Linked DNA regions of Homo sapiens: region 2 is linked to region 1. Evidence: promoter capture Hi-C in human tissues and cell types (Jung and others, 2019). All regions are on one chromosome and are shown on one strand. Each heading gives the region's core, a stretch centred on a gene start or on the middle of the fragment in contact. The rest is flanking DNA. Distances are from core to core; before and after follow the strand shown. Region 1 holds the start of ADAMTS2 (ADAM metallopeptidase with thrombospondin type 1 motif 2). Region 2 overlaps ZNF354A (zinc finger protein 354A).

The links. The method cuts DNA at HindIII sites, captures the fragments that hold promoters and counts their contacts. A contact is called where the count stands out against the background at its distance.
Region 2: a fragment that was not itself captured here is called in contact with the fragment with the promoter of ADAMTS2 in region 1 in 1 of the 25 tissues and cell types used here (lymphoblastoid cells).

The regions. Positions count from the first base shown.
Region 1 is chr5:179,342,113-179,347,927 of GRCh38, forward strand. It overlaps ADAMTS2 (ADAM metallopeptidase with thrombospondin type 1 motif 2), which reads right to left and starts at 3,349. Exons shown (of 22, transcript NM_014244.5): 1 at 3,078-3,349; 2 at 1,655-2,049. The coding sequence starts at 3,216. LOC105377759 (a long non-coding RNA gene) reads right to left here. Exons shown (of 3, transcript XR_941311.3): 2 at 4,834-4,986; 3 at 4,249-4,667. The HindIII fragment of the contact is 12,907 bases long and covers 1-5,815 here.
Region 2 is chr5:178,709,504-178,715,149 of GRCh38, forward strand. ZNF354A (zinc finger protein 354A) reads right to left here. Exons shown (of 5, transcript NM_005649.3): 5 at 2,009-4,118. The coding sequence ends at 2,557. Among named protein-coding and RNA genes, the nearest start is that of MSANTD5, 15 kb to the left of the region's middle. The HindIII fragment of the contact is 7,128 bases long and covers 1-4,902 here.

The DNA.
Region 1 (5,815 bases), core at 2,099-4,598:
TATGAGAAGGTGCTGGCTGAAAAATGAATCACCAAATGAACTGCTGAATGAATGAAACAGTGACAAGTCCTCCCCAAAATGCTCTCCATCAGGAATGCATAGTACACAGGTGTTGGCCCACCAACAGACTGCAACCCCATGTCAACTCCCACCACCTTACCTCACCCTAAGTCCGCAGCAAACATCTCCTTTCATTTAGGAAATTAACCTCCAGCGTAAAATGGGACACACCTCTGAGGCCCAGGATGTCCTCAGAGACAGTGGGCGATGTCAAGGGCTCACCATTTTAACCCAGCTCCTCCAGGGATATTTACAGTTGTTTGCAATATGGCCAAGTTCTAACTAAATCCAGCCAAAGGCAGTGATTTTCCAAAGCAACAAGTGATATTTTCTGTGTCTCCATAAAAAGAATGACAGTGGTTGCAGAGCCCTGGTGTAATTGCCGGCTCTGCAGACTGTAGGATGAGCCTCAGCTGCCCGAGTACGGGCGTGCTCAGGGGCCACGGGGGCTGGGAGAGTGGCCACTCACTCGGGGCAGGAGTTCCCTGAGTAGCAATTAGAGCGGAACCCATGGTGGGCGGCTTCAGATGTCTGGCCAGCACAGCCAGCCTGACCACCACACACCCAATCCAAAATAGAAAACTGCAGTGGCCTCTGCTGTGTGCCAGGCCCCGGGCAGCCGGACAGAGCACCGCCAATGTCAGCCTCCTCCCTCAGCATCGATCCAGGCTTCCTCTGAGGCCCCCTTGTGCTGAGCCACGGTCCCTCCTGCCCTCTCCAGGAAGCAGAGCTTCCCAGAGCTCCAGTCACAGGACTAGAGAGGCGCAGGCAGTCTCAAAAGGGATCCCCTAGCCTCTCTCTTGTCCTTCAGGCGCTGCCCCCAAAAGATCGAGCAGCTCATGGGCACTAGAGCCTTCATTTCCAAATGCACCCCTCAGCTCAAAATAGAGAAAACCAACTTTTCAAAGAACCAGCTGGAGTTCAACAGGAAACCACAGCAGAAAAACCAATGATTCCCGGTCAGCCAAGGGGCAGAGGGCTAACTGGGCATTTCAGCATCACTGCCAGCTCCCTGGGCTGGTATTACCCGCACGCAAGGAAACAGGAAGACTGACTGCCAGCCCATAAGTCCACCACACACATATCACGCCAGTATGCACAAGGACGGACACAAACTCAACAGATGCTCAACACACTGATGTGCAGAAACCCAGACACATACGTGCACAAGAGACACTGGCACACGCACATGTTCACACAGGTGCACGGGCACCCAGATGCAGGTACACACCAACGTTCCACAACACATGTGCACACACTCACAAAGGTACACACACATACACGGACCCACCCCCGGATGCAAGCCAGAGACCTGTTCAGGCAGGCAAAAGAGAGAGGCGCACGCTCCTGCCTGCTGAGCCTTTTGGAGACCCGGGCGCTCCCCATGCATAAATGGCCCCCTGCTCAGACCAGTCAAAACAACCTGCTTTCCAGCCAAGCCCTTCAGTTGGAGCACGAGGCTCACTAAAGCACGGGAAGGGCGCGGAAAGTCCTCAGCGCAGGCCTTGCCCTCCCAAGGGACTCCCAGGTAACCCTTTTCCAAAACCCAGGCGAGAGCAGCGGAGAGAAAGGAGCTAGAGAAGTGCGTACTCACCAGCCCATCGCAGTTGCTGAGCGCCACAGAGGAGGCTTCGGCTAGGCCGGCCACGTCTCCGACGTAGAGACAGCTCCCGAGCAGGGGCTCCACGCGGGTGGTGCCCTTCTCGCCCTGCCACTCCATAGTGGCCCCGGGCGCCACGAGGCGGGCGTTGGGCCGCAGCCGCAGGTGCAGGTCTCGGCCAAAGACCGTGACATTGTAGAAGAGGTGACTGCCAGGCTCCTCCTCGTTGCCTCCGGGGAAGCTCGGGGTCCGGACCGGGGCGGCCCTGCGGGCTCGTACCCCTGCTCTGGACGTAGCTGCCGACACCACGTGGGACACCAAGCGGCCCTGGGCGTCAGTGCGCACGGGCACCGCCAGGATGCGCTCCGCTCCGTGCCCCAGGGGCCCGCCTGCAACGGGAAGGGGCGTTAGATCGGCGGAGACCACGGAGCCCCAGTGCCTCAGAGACCCGCCGGCAAGCCACGCCCCCCCAGACCCCGCCCCACTGCGAAGGGAAGGGGCATTCCGCCAGGCGACCCCAGAAGCCAGCCTGCACCTCCCCGGCTTTCCTGCAACCGGGAAGGGGCGTTAACAGGGCCACCACTCCGGGGCTCCGCCACTCCCCAGCCGTTCCCTCCTCCGGAGACCTTGCCTGCCAAGAGCTCTGCCCCCTGCCCCGTTCAGGGTTGGGGCTCGGTGGGAACCTCCCCGTGCCCGAAGGGACGACCCCGTCAGAGAGTCCCCCGACCCTTGCACCTACCGTCCTTGGCAGGACGTGGAGCTGCTCGGAAGCCATTCCGGGTTGGCCCCCTTACCCGTGTGCCACGACCCCTCGGCGGGCCCCTGCCGCCCGAGTGCCCTCACCGCCAGCCTCCGGAGCGGCGGAGTCTCGGCTTCCCCGAGCACGAGCGGCCTGTCCTGCCTGTCCAGCTCCCGCTCAGCCCGCTGCCGGCCCCGTCTCCCCGAGCGCCCGAGGACTGGGAGGGGTGGAACAGGGTCCCTCCGATCTCCGGGGATTCCCTGCGGGGCGCCCCAACCAATCCTTAGGGCCCAAGGCTACGCGCTCGGCAGCCGGCTCCTCCGGAGCGTCCCCGGACGCGAGCCCCGGCGCCGCCTCGCCCTGGCTCCCCCCTCGGACCCGCTGGGGCTGACTCTGCGCTCTTGGCCGCGGGGCTTTTCCCGGCCCTCCGTCCCCACCCTCCGCGACTCAGGAGCCGCCAGTGCTCCGAGGCTCCCCCGGCCCAAGGCGCTCGGGGGCGGTGCGGGGCGCCCCCTGCGCGACCAACCCGGCCCCGAAGTTGGCCAACTTGGCCCCGGGCGGGGCGCGCGGAGTTTGCCCAAGTCAGGCTGGACGACGCCTGGGGAGGGGGCGGCGGGGCACGCGGGACAGGGCCAGGCCGGCGGGGGTCCCGGGGAGTAGGGGCCGGGCCGCACCTACCTGGGGGGTCGGCGGCGGCGGCGAGCCTGGCGTTCGCGGGCGGCGGCGGCGGCGGCAGGAGCGGCGGCGGCAGCAGCAGCAGCAGCAGCAGCAGCGCGGGGCAGAGCAGGCGGCGAGCGGCTCCCGCCGGCGGATCCATGGCAGCCGGACTGCAGCCGGGGCCCCGCACTCGCAGCCGGCGCGAAAGTTCCCCGCGAGCCGCCCAGCCCACATCTGGGGGCAGCTGGAGCCGCCCGCAGCTGCAGCACCGCAGGGCGCGGGGCGGAGGAGGCGAGGCGCGGAGGGGCGGGCGGGGGAGCGCGGAGGGAAGGCGGGGAGAGGGAAGGAGCGAGCGAGCGAGGGAGGCAGGCGGGAGGGAGGGAGGCGAGCGAGGGGGAGGGCGGGGACGGCGGGCGCCTCAGCCTGCGGTGACCCGGCGCATCTTGGCGCGGCCGCCGCCGCCGCCCGCTTCCCTCTTCGCGCCGCCGTCGCCGCGGTGCCGGGCTCGCAGCGAAGCAGAGACACCCCGAGGCGGCGGCAGAGAAGCGCCGCGGGCCGGGCCGGGGGAGCCCCGCCGCCAGCCACCCCAGGGGCACAACCTCCGAGGAGCGGCGCCGGCCGAACGTCCCCACCTAGAGAGCCCTTGGGGTGCCGGGTCCCACCCATCAGCCCTGGAATTCAAGGGGTGCATCCCCCTGTCTCTGTGCTCTGGGGCAGGACAGGGTGAGGGAATGAAAGGGGAGGGGGGACTGACTACTGGGTCCAAGGTCTGAGCCAGGCCGAATGCCCAAATAGAGGCCGCAAAGGCCAGAAGATGCTGTTAGGAGGGTACACCCAGGGCGCGACCCCAAAGATCAACTTTTGCCCTTACTGAGAGAGGCAAGGCTCCTTCAGTCCCCAGTTCCTCTTCCTCTGAAGTCCCTGTCCCCTGTCCCCCATCTGCCTTCCCATCCCTCCGCTGCAGCCTCAGCACAGCCTCTTCCTGCCAGACCTGGGCTCTCTGCCCATGAGCACAGTCAGGCTCCTGCCCTCACCTGTCCTCAACCCCACGTATGCATTCTGTCCTCCCGCCATTGCACTCCCGGCCCCCAACCTGAAATGGCCTCTCCAAGCTCTGCCTACCTTTTCCACCCAAGCATCCAAGGACACCTGGGCCCATTCTGGGGCCAGTTTGCTGTTAGAGCCCGTTGCCAACCGGAACCCCTCCCCAGTCCCTCCTCTCCAGCAAGGCCCTGATCCTCCCATGCTGTCTGAGCTCAGCGGCCTCTCTCCAGGGCCTGCCTGAGAGCCCCCTCTCAGGCTGTTGATCATCTCTGCCCTGGGACCCCCAATTTCTGCCTCACTTCCCCAGAGGGTGAACACCCACCCCTTTGATTTTCTCATTTGCCCTGCCCCAGGTCTGTGTGGCCAGGGCTTTGGTCTTTGCTTTGGCCAGGGGCAGAGGACCCGGAGATGACTCAGGCCTCTCCCTGCTGGCCAGGAGGTCCCAGTCGTTGGGGGAAACACGACTTACACAGCAGGCTCTAACTGTGATCTCACGTCCTTGGTTCTTTCGATTGTGGGTCCTGGGTGTGAGAGCATCGCAGCTGGACAGCCATCTTCACCTGCAAGCTGTACTCTTTCTGTGTCACCTAAGGGTGCCCGAGGCTGGATCCAGCTCCCAGGCATGGTGAGATGTCACATGGAAATTTAGATTGGTAACTTTTCTTGAGATATTGGAAGATGTGGCCACGCTAGCCCCACAGTCCTGCTTAGCAACCATTAAATGGGCACTTACCTTGCAGTTTGTGGCAGGTCCCGCCTCTCCTCACTCTCTGTAGGCATCTGCTCTCGTGACCTGTGATGACCCAACTGGTTCCAGAGAAAGTTGGAACTGGAATCCTAGTATACCACAGAGATGACTCCAGAGCTGGGCATCCAGGAGGACTTCCTGTAAGAGGTGGCATGAGTTGAATTGTGAAGGCTGGGGGAGCTAGGCAGCCCAGAGTTGGGTCCAGCCAGTTGCTGTCCTGGAACCCATGACGCATTCCTCCTGTGGTTGTCAGCGCTTCCATCCTCTTCGAAACACGAGTGAAACCCAACCAGCAGCCGCCCCTACTTCAAGGGGCATGTTCTGCACCTTCCTGCCGTGTCTATGGTTGGGTATTTCTTTACACAGCGCCTAAAACTTTTTTCAATTTTTTAAAGGATACTTTAAATCACTACTATAAATGGAAAAGCCAGCATCTCACCATGTTTCCATAAATCAAAGATAATTGCTAAAAATAAATACAACAAGAAGAGAAATGTTATCAAATTCCAGATACTTTGACCTGCTAAAGATACCGAAGGCTGAAGCTGATTAGTAAGTGTTACAAAAGCCTTAAGATGGACTAGCACAGAGGTCGTTGTTCTGATGTGATTGGAAGGATGAAAGGAGGCCTGAAAAGGAGTAACTCTGACTTTATGAGTTGATGGCATCTTCTAACAGGTTCACAGAGCTAAATTATTTTGTATACTTTGGGATACTTGCTTTGGGATATTTTTGGGGGAAAGAATTTGTCTCCTGGACACTGAATAACCCCAGGCAGCTGATTCTTCCCACATCACCCGTGCCCCTGCCACCAGGGATGAGTTGGGGATGGAGCAGCACCCTTGCCTGGCCCTTCCTTTAGTGCCCCCACTGTCACCCACCAGGGTGGTGGATGAACAAGGCTCACATGCACCTAACTTCACAGTTAAACCCTCAGGGAGGTGGAGGAGACTTGCAGACACATCCC
Region 2 (5,646 bases), core at 89-2,588, 630 kb before region 1:
TCCTGTTCTCCATCAATGCTGTCCCTGTTTGAGTTGGAACCCTCATTTACCTATTACTTGAATTTAAACAGCCCAGATTTCCTGGGTGGCATCAGTCATCAGCTTTCTTCAACCCCATACGCTTATCTTCTATGGAATTTCCCTTGCTTACCATCTTTGACTCCACCGATTTTACCATAAAATCCAAACTCCTTAGCTTGGCAAATAAGGCCTTTTGTGATTTGGCTTCTGCCTTCTACTCGAGCTTTAACATTTGTCATTTTCCTGCTCACTAGTTCTAAATTAAGTTTTCCAAATGTCCTATTATCCACCTGTGGTTTGGCGCATGCTGTTTCCTCTTAATCGGAATGCTTCTGTCTCCCTCGGAGTTCCTACTATTCTCCCCAAATATAGCCCAGGCATCATTGCCCCTGGAAAGCTTTGATGTCTCCAGGCTTTCTTCATGAGTCTCTTTCTTCATCCTGTGCAAATCTTTACAATATTTTCATAGTGGAACATATTGTCATAACTTATTTGCCTACTGAAACAACAAAAACTGCAATATAATCTGCTTGCTCATTTGCTAGCCCAACTCCATCCCCTTCCCAATTCATGGCTTCTTGAAGAAAAGCCTGTGTCTGTCTTAAAACTTGTACAGTTTTAAAACTTGTAAACTTGTATAGTACCTGCTCCAAAGTTAAAAAATATTTACTGTTGAGAAAAACTTAGGACTGTAATGTCCCCCCTCAAACTGGGAAGGAGCCGAGAGACCAAAGAATGACTCAGACAAGTCCAGCTTGATGAGCAGATGAGTTTATTATGACTTCCATACAGGGCTCTCCTGGACTGCAGCAGGACAGCTCTGGAGATCTGCACCACCTCGCACCTCTAAGCTGCTTTTAAGCCAGTTTTCTGGCTCTTTGCCTCGTGTGTGATTGGACTGTTTGCTTAGTGTGTTCCCAGATACTCTGGGATGTTTGGGTTCTCAGGGACACTTGCTCCTCAGCTGGGCACCATGGCCTCTGCTTACTGTCCAGACTTCAGGGCTCAAGTAGTGGATATAAACCCTTAGGTAACCTGGTAGGGGATCTGTCACACTACACTAAGTTTATGAAACAATTCACATGTCTTGTTTGGGCTGCTGTAACAAAATAACCTCATCATACTAGGTAACTAATAAAATATTTCTCACAGTTCTGGAGGCTGGGAAACCCATTTAAAGTGCTAGCAGGTTTGGTGTCTGGTTATGGCCATCTTGATTCAAAGAAGGTATCTTACCACTGTGCCTTCACATGGCTGAAGGGCAGAACAAGCTCCCTTGGGGCTCTCTGATAAGGGCACTGAGGGCTCCGCCCTTCTGATCTGATCACCTCTTCACACATCCCACTTCATGATACCATCACCTTGGAGGTTAGCATTTGAACACAGGGATTTGGGGGAGACATAAACATTGAGACCATAGCAATGTCCTTTTCAAGAGTTTGCCACAGGTGTTAGATTTGCGAAAGTTCTTCTGATGTGTTCGTTATAAATTTAAAAAATACATATTTAGGGTGGCCGGGCACGGTGGCTCACACCTGTAATCCCAGCACTTTGGGAGGCCGTGGCAGGCAGATCACCTGAGGTCAGGAGTTCAAGACCAGCCTGGCCAACATGGAGAAACCCTGTCTCTACTAAAAATACAAAATAGCCGGGTGTGGTGGCAGGTGCCTGTAATCCCAGCTACTCGAGAGGCTGAGGCAGGAGAATTGCTTGAACCTGGGAGGCGGAGGTTGCAGTGAGCCGAGATCGCACCATTGCACTCCAGCCTGGGTGACAGAGACTCCATCTCAAAATAAAAATAATAATAATAAATACATACATACATATTTAGTAGCTTTAAACCTGAAATTATTGCCTGTTTTTCTATCTAATACAGTTCAGGGCATATAACTGGTACACCTAATAAATGACTTCAGAGAAATAAAATCCAAAACCAAGTTAAGACAGTTGAGTAGAAAATTCACAACTACTAGAACAAAAGACCAGATTTTTCTTTTTCTTTTTTAATGAAATCCATGCATAAGTTTGACATCAGGGTAGGAAAAGGACAAACCCCAGAGACTGAGAGGTAGTTCATAATTCATTTTTCTTTTATTTTGGTCCTTTTCTCTAAAAAGGTACAATTTGATCAAGCTATTAAAATGCTATAAAAATATTACCAGTTTGGTGGTCTTCTAATGAGAAATCTAAAGCACACCTCCCCACCCACTCGGATATCTGTTTCTGATGATCACGTGACATCTAGCATATACGTCTGTAGGAAAAGGGAAAAAGCAAACCCATTTCACAAATGGCTAAAGTCAATGTCTTCAATTGTAAATTCTTCATCTCAGGTTATTTTTTTAAGTGTCTGACAGGCACAAACACTTTCCTCATATCTATTATATAGCTGAGGTTTATCCATGGAATTAAATACCTAATGAGGGCTAAATTATTACAGTTTTTTTCACATCCATTACATTTATTACATCTCTCTCAAGGATGTATTCTTCGATGAGCTTTGGTTTAAGGCTTTCACACATACAAATCTACTTTCTAGGGGTCCTCTTCGATATGAATTTTATAATGATTAGTAAGGGATGACCTATGGTTGAAAAGTTTCCCACATGTATTACATTCATAGGGTTTCTCTCCAGTATGAATTCTCTGATGTGCAATACGTGATGAGCTTTGTCTAAAAGTTTTTCCACATGTATTACATTTAAAGGGTTTTTCTCCTGTATGAATCCTTCGATGCTGAATAAGAGCTGAACTTTGGCCAAAAGATATCCCACATTCCTCACATCGATATGGTTTCTCTCCAGTATGAATTCTCTGGTGATTACTAAGTGATGAGTTACACCTGAATGTTTTCCCACACTCGTTACATTTATAGGGTCTTTCTCCAGTATGCATTCTCTGATGTTGAATGAGAGCTGAACTCTGTCTGAAGGCTTTTCCACATACTTTACATTTACATGGTTTTTCTCCAGTATGAATTCGCTCGTGAATAATAAGTGTTGAGTGGGAGCTTAAGGCTTTACCACATTCATTACAATTATAAAACTTCTCTCCAGTATGAATGATTCGGTGTCTATTAAGTCGTGAAATAGAAGTAAAGCCTTTCCCACATTCATTGCATCTATAGGGCTTTTCTCCGGTGTGAATTCTTTCATGTTGAATAAGAGAGGCACTCTGGCTGAAGGCTCTCCCACATTCACTACATTTAAAAGGCTTCTCTCCAGTGTGAATTCTCTGATGATAACGAAGGGATGAGCTAGACTTAAAGGTGTTGCCACATTCATTACATAAGTAGGACTTCTTTCTAGAATGAATTCTTTGACATCCAGAAAGGGATGTGCTGCAACTAGATGCCTTCCTACCCGGATTATACTTACAAGGGTTTTCTTCAGCATGAATTTTTTGATGTATAAAAAGGCCTGACCTTCGGCTGAAGGATTTACCACATTCTTTACATCTGTAGGATTTCTCCACAGTATGGGTTCTTAGATGTTTATAAAGGGATGTACTGAGAGTAAAGGCTTTCCCACATTCTTTACATATGTAGGGTTTCTCTCCAGTATGCGTTATTTGATGTTGAATAAGAGCTGAACTTTGGCTAAAGGCTTTTGAACATTCTTTACACTTAAATAGTTTCTCTCCACTATGGTTTTTCTCATGTTTACGAAGGGATGAAGTGTTAATGAAGGTTTTTTCACACAGACTACATTTATAGCGTTTATCTGCTGTAATTTTTGGTTGATTAAGTAATTGTGAATTCTGTTTGAGGCTGTTTCCTTGTATTTCACATTTTGGTGGTGTTTTTTCTCTGGGAAGTATCTGTTGCCTAATAAGCACTGACTTTGGGCTGAAGTTTTGGCTCAATTCAGTATTTTTATGGCTTCTTTCTATAGTGGGGATTTTTTTGTGGGTGGCTGAAACTATCTGAAAACTTCCCTTTTTATCCTGCTTTTTCTCTAATCTGCCTTCATATATGTAAGGCTTTTCTAATTTCAAATCCCAAGGTACATTCCTGTTGGATCTTTTCAGTATCAGTCCCTGAAATGAAGAGTCTTGTGTTTGCGTTGACTTTGTGGTTTTATGACTGCTCTTCGATCCTGGAGGGAAAAAAAAAATCAAAAATGTTTCATGTGATATCATAGCATCTGACTACTGAGACTAAAAGTGTAGAAGGAATAAATATTGGTGACATTTAAATAAGACCCTGATATCTGTATGAAAAAAATTGCAAAAAGAAAAAATAGGACAGTTAGACAGTATAATAAAATATAATTGACAGCAATTTAAGTACTAGGGTGAAGAATAAAATAAAGCAAACCCATTTAAAGAGGGTGAGAAAGAGTGACCAGAAGAATTGGCTAATGAAGAACAGAGAAAAGGGTTATAAAGGGATCATGAGTTGAAAGAGGAAGTTTGGGGTTAGGACCCAAAACCCATGATGGAATCCTAATTTTTTTTTGTTTTTTTTTTTTGACATTTATCTTCTTTGTGTAATTTTTTTTGAGACAGTCTCACTCTGTCGCCCAGGCTCGAGTGCAGTGGCGCGATCTCGGCTCACTGCAACCGGTCTCCTGGCTTCAAGCAATTCTTGTGCCTCAGCCTCCTGAGTAGCTGGGATTACAGGCACCCACCATCATGCCTGGCTAATTTTTGTATTTTTAGTAGAGACAGGGTTTCACCGTGTTGGCCAGGCTGGCCTTGAACTCCTGACCTCAAGTGATCTACCCACCTCGGCCTCCCAAAGTGCTTGGATTACAGGCATGAGCCACTGTGCTCAGCCTTTATATAATTATTCTTAATCTGGAAAGTCCCTCCACCCCATGTCAAATTCCCTTATATCCTTCAGATTCAGTTCAAAAATGGACTCTCTCAATCCTTTGACTCTGAGCAGCCACGGTCCCTTCTCCTTACTATAGCACTTACCAGAGTATTAAACATATGTATTACTGACCTTTATAATATATGCACACATATATAGTATATTATAGTTCTATATCTATGTCTGTATGTATCTCACTTTCCTTTTCTGAAGTAACTGTTCTTCACAAGCAGATCAGAATGCCCTATTTTCCTACAGATCCTCTTGACAGCACTCCAATTATATACAAAAGTTGTATGTTTTGTTAATCTGCCTTAATTACTTATACATTCCTAACTGGAACAATGTCAAATATTCTTACGTATTTCATATATATACAAATATGCACATGTGTTATACATACATACACATACATACTTCATATATATACAAATATGCACATGTGTTATACATACATACACATACACATTTCAGACCCTTGTAGAAGTTGCCTCCTAGGCCAGTACATGGGTGATTAGAGAGGTTTCAGGGCCAGTTCAAACAGGAGGGCCCTGTTATTGAATTAATCGACAAGAGGTGCCACAAGACAGGCCTAGAGCCAAGAGGTGCAAGATAGGAAGGCAGCCTACTCATGCATCAAGCAAGAGAGGTTACATGGGATGGCTGAAAAGAGTCAAAGATCAACAATAAGACAGGCATGGATATATAAGATAAAGCATGGTTAACATGGAAAAGTAAAGAACAGAAGTGAAGAAATATTAAAATTGGATAAGAACACAATTCAATAGATAGTAAATTCTCTCAGG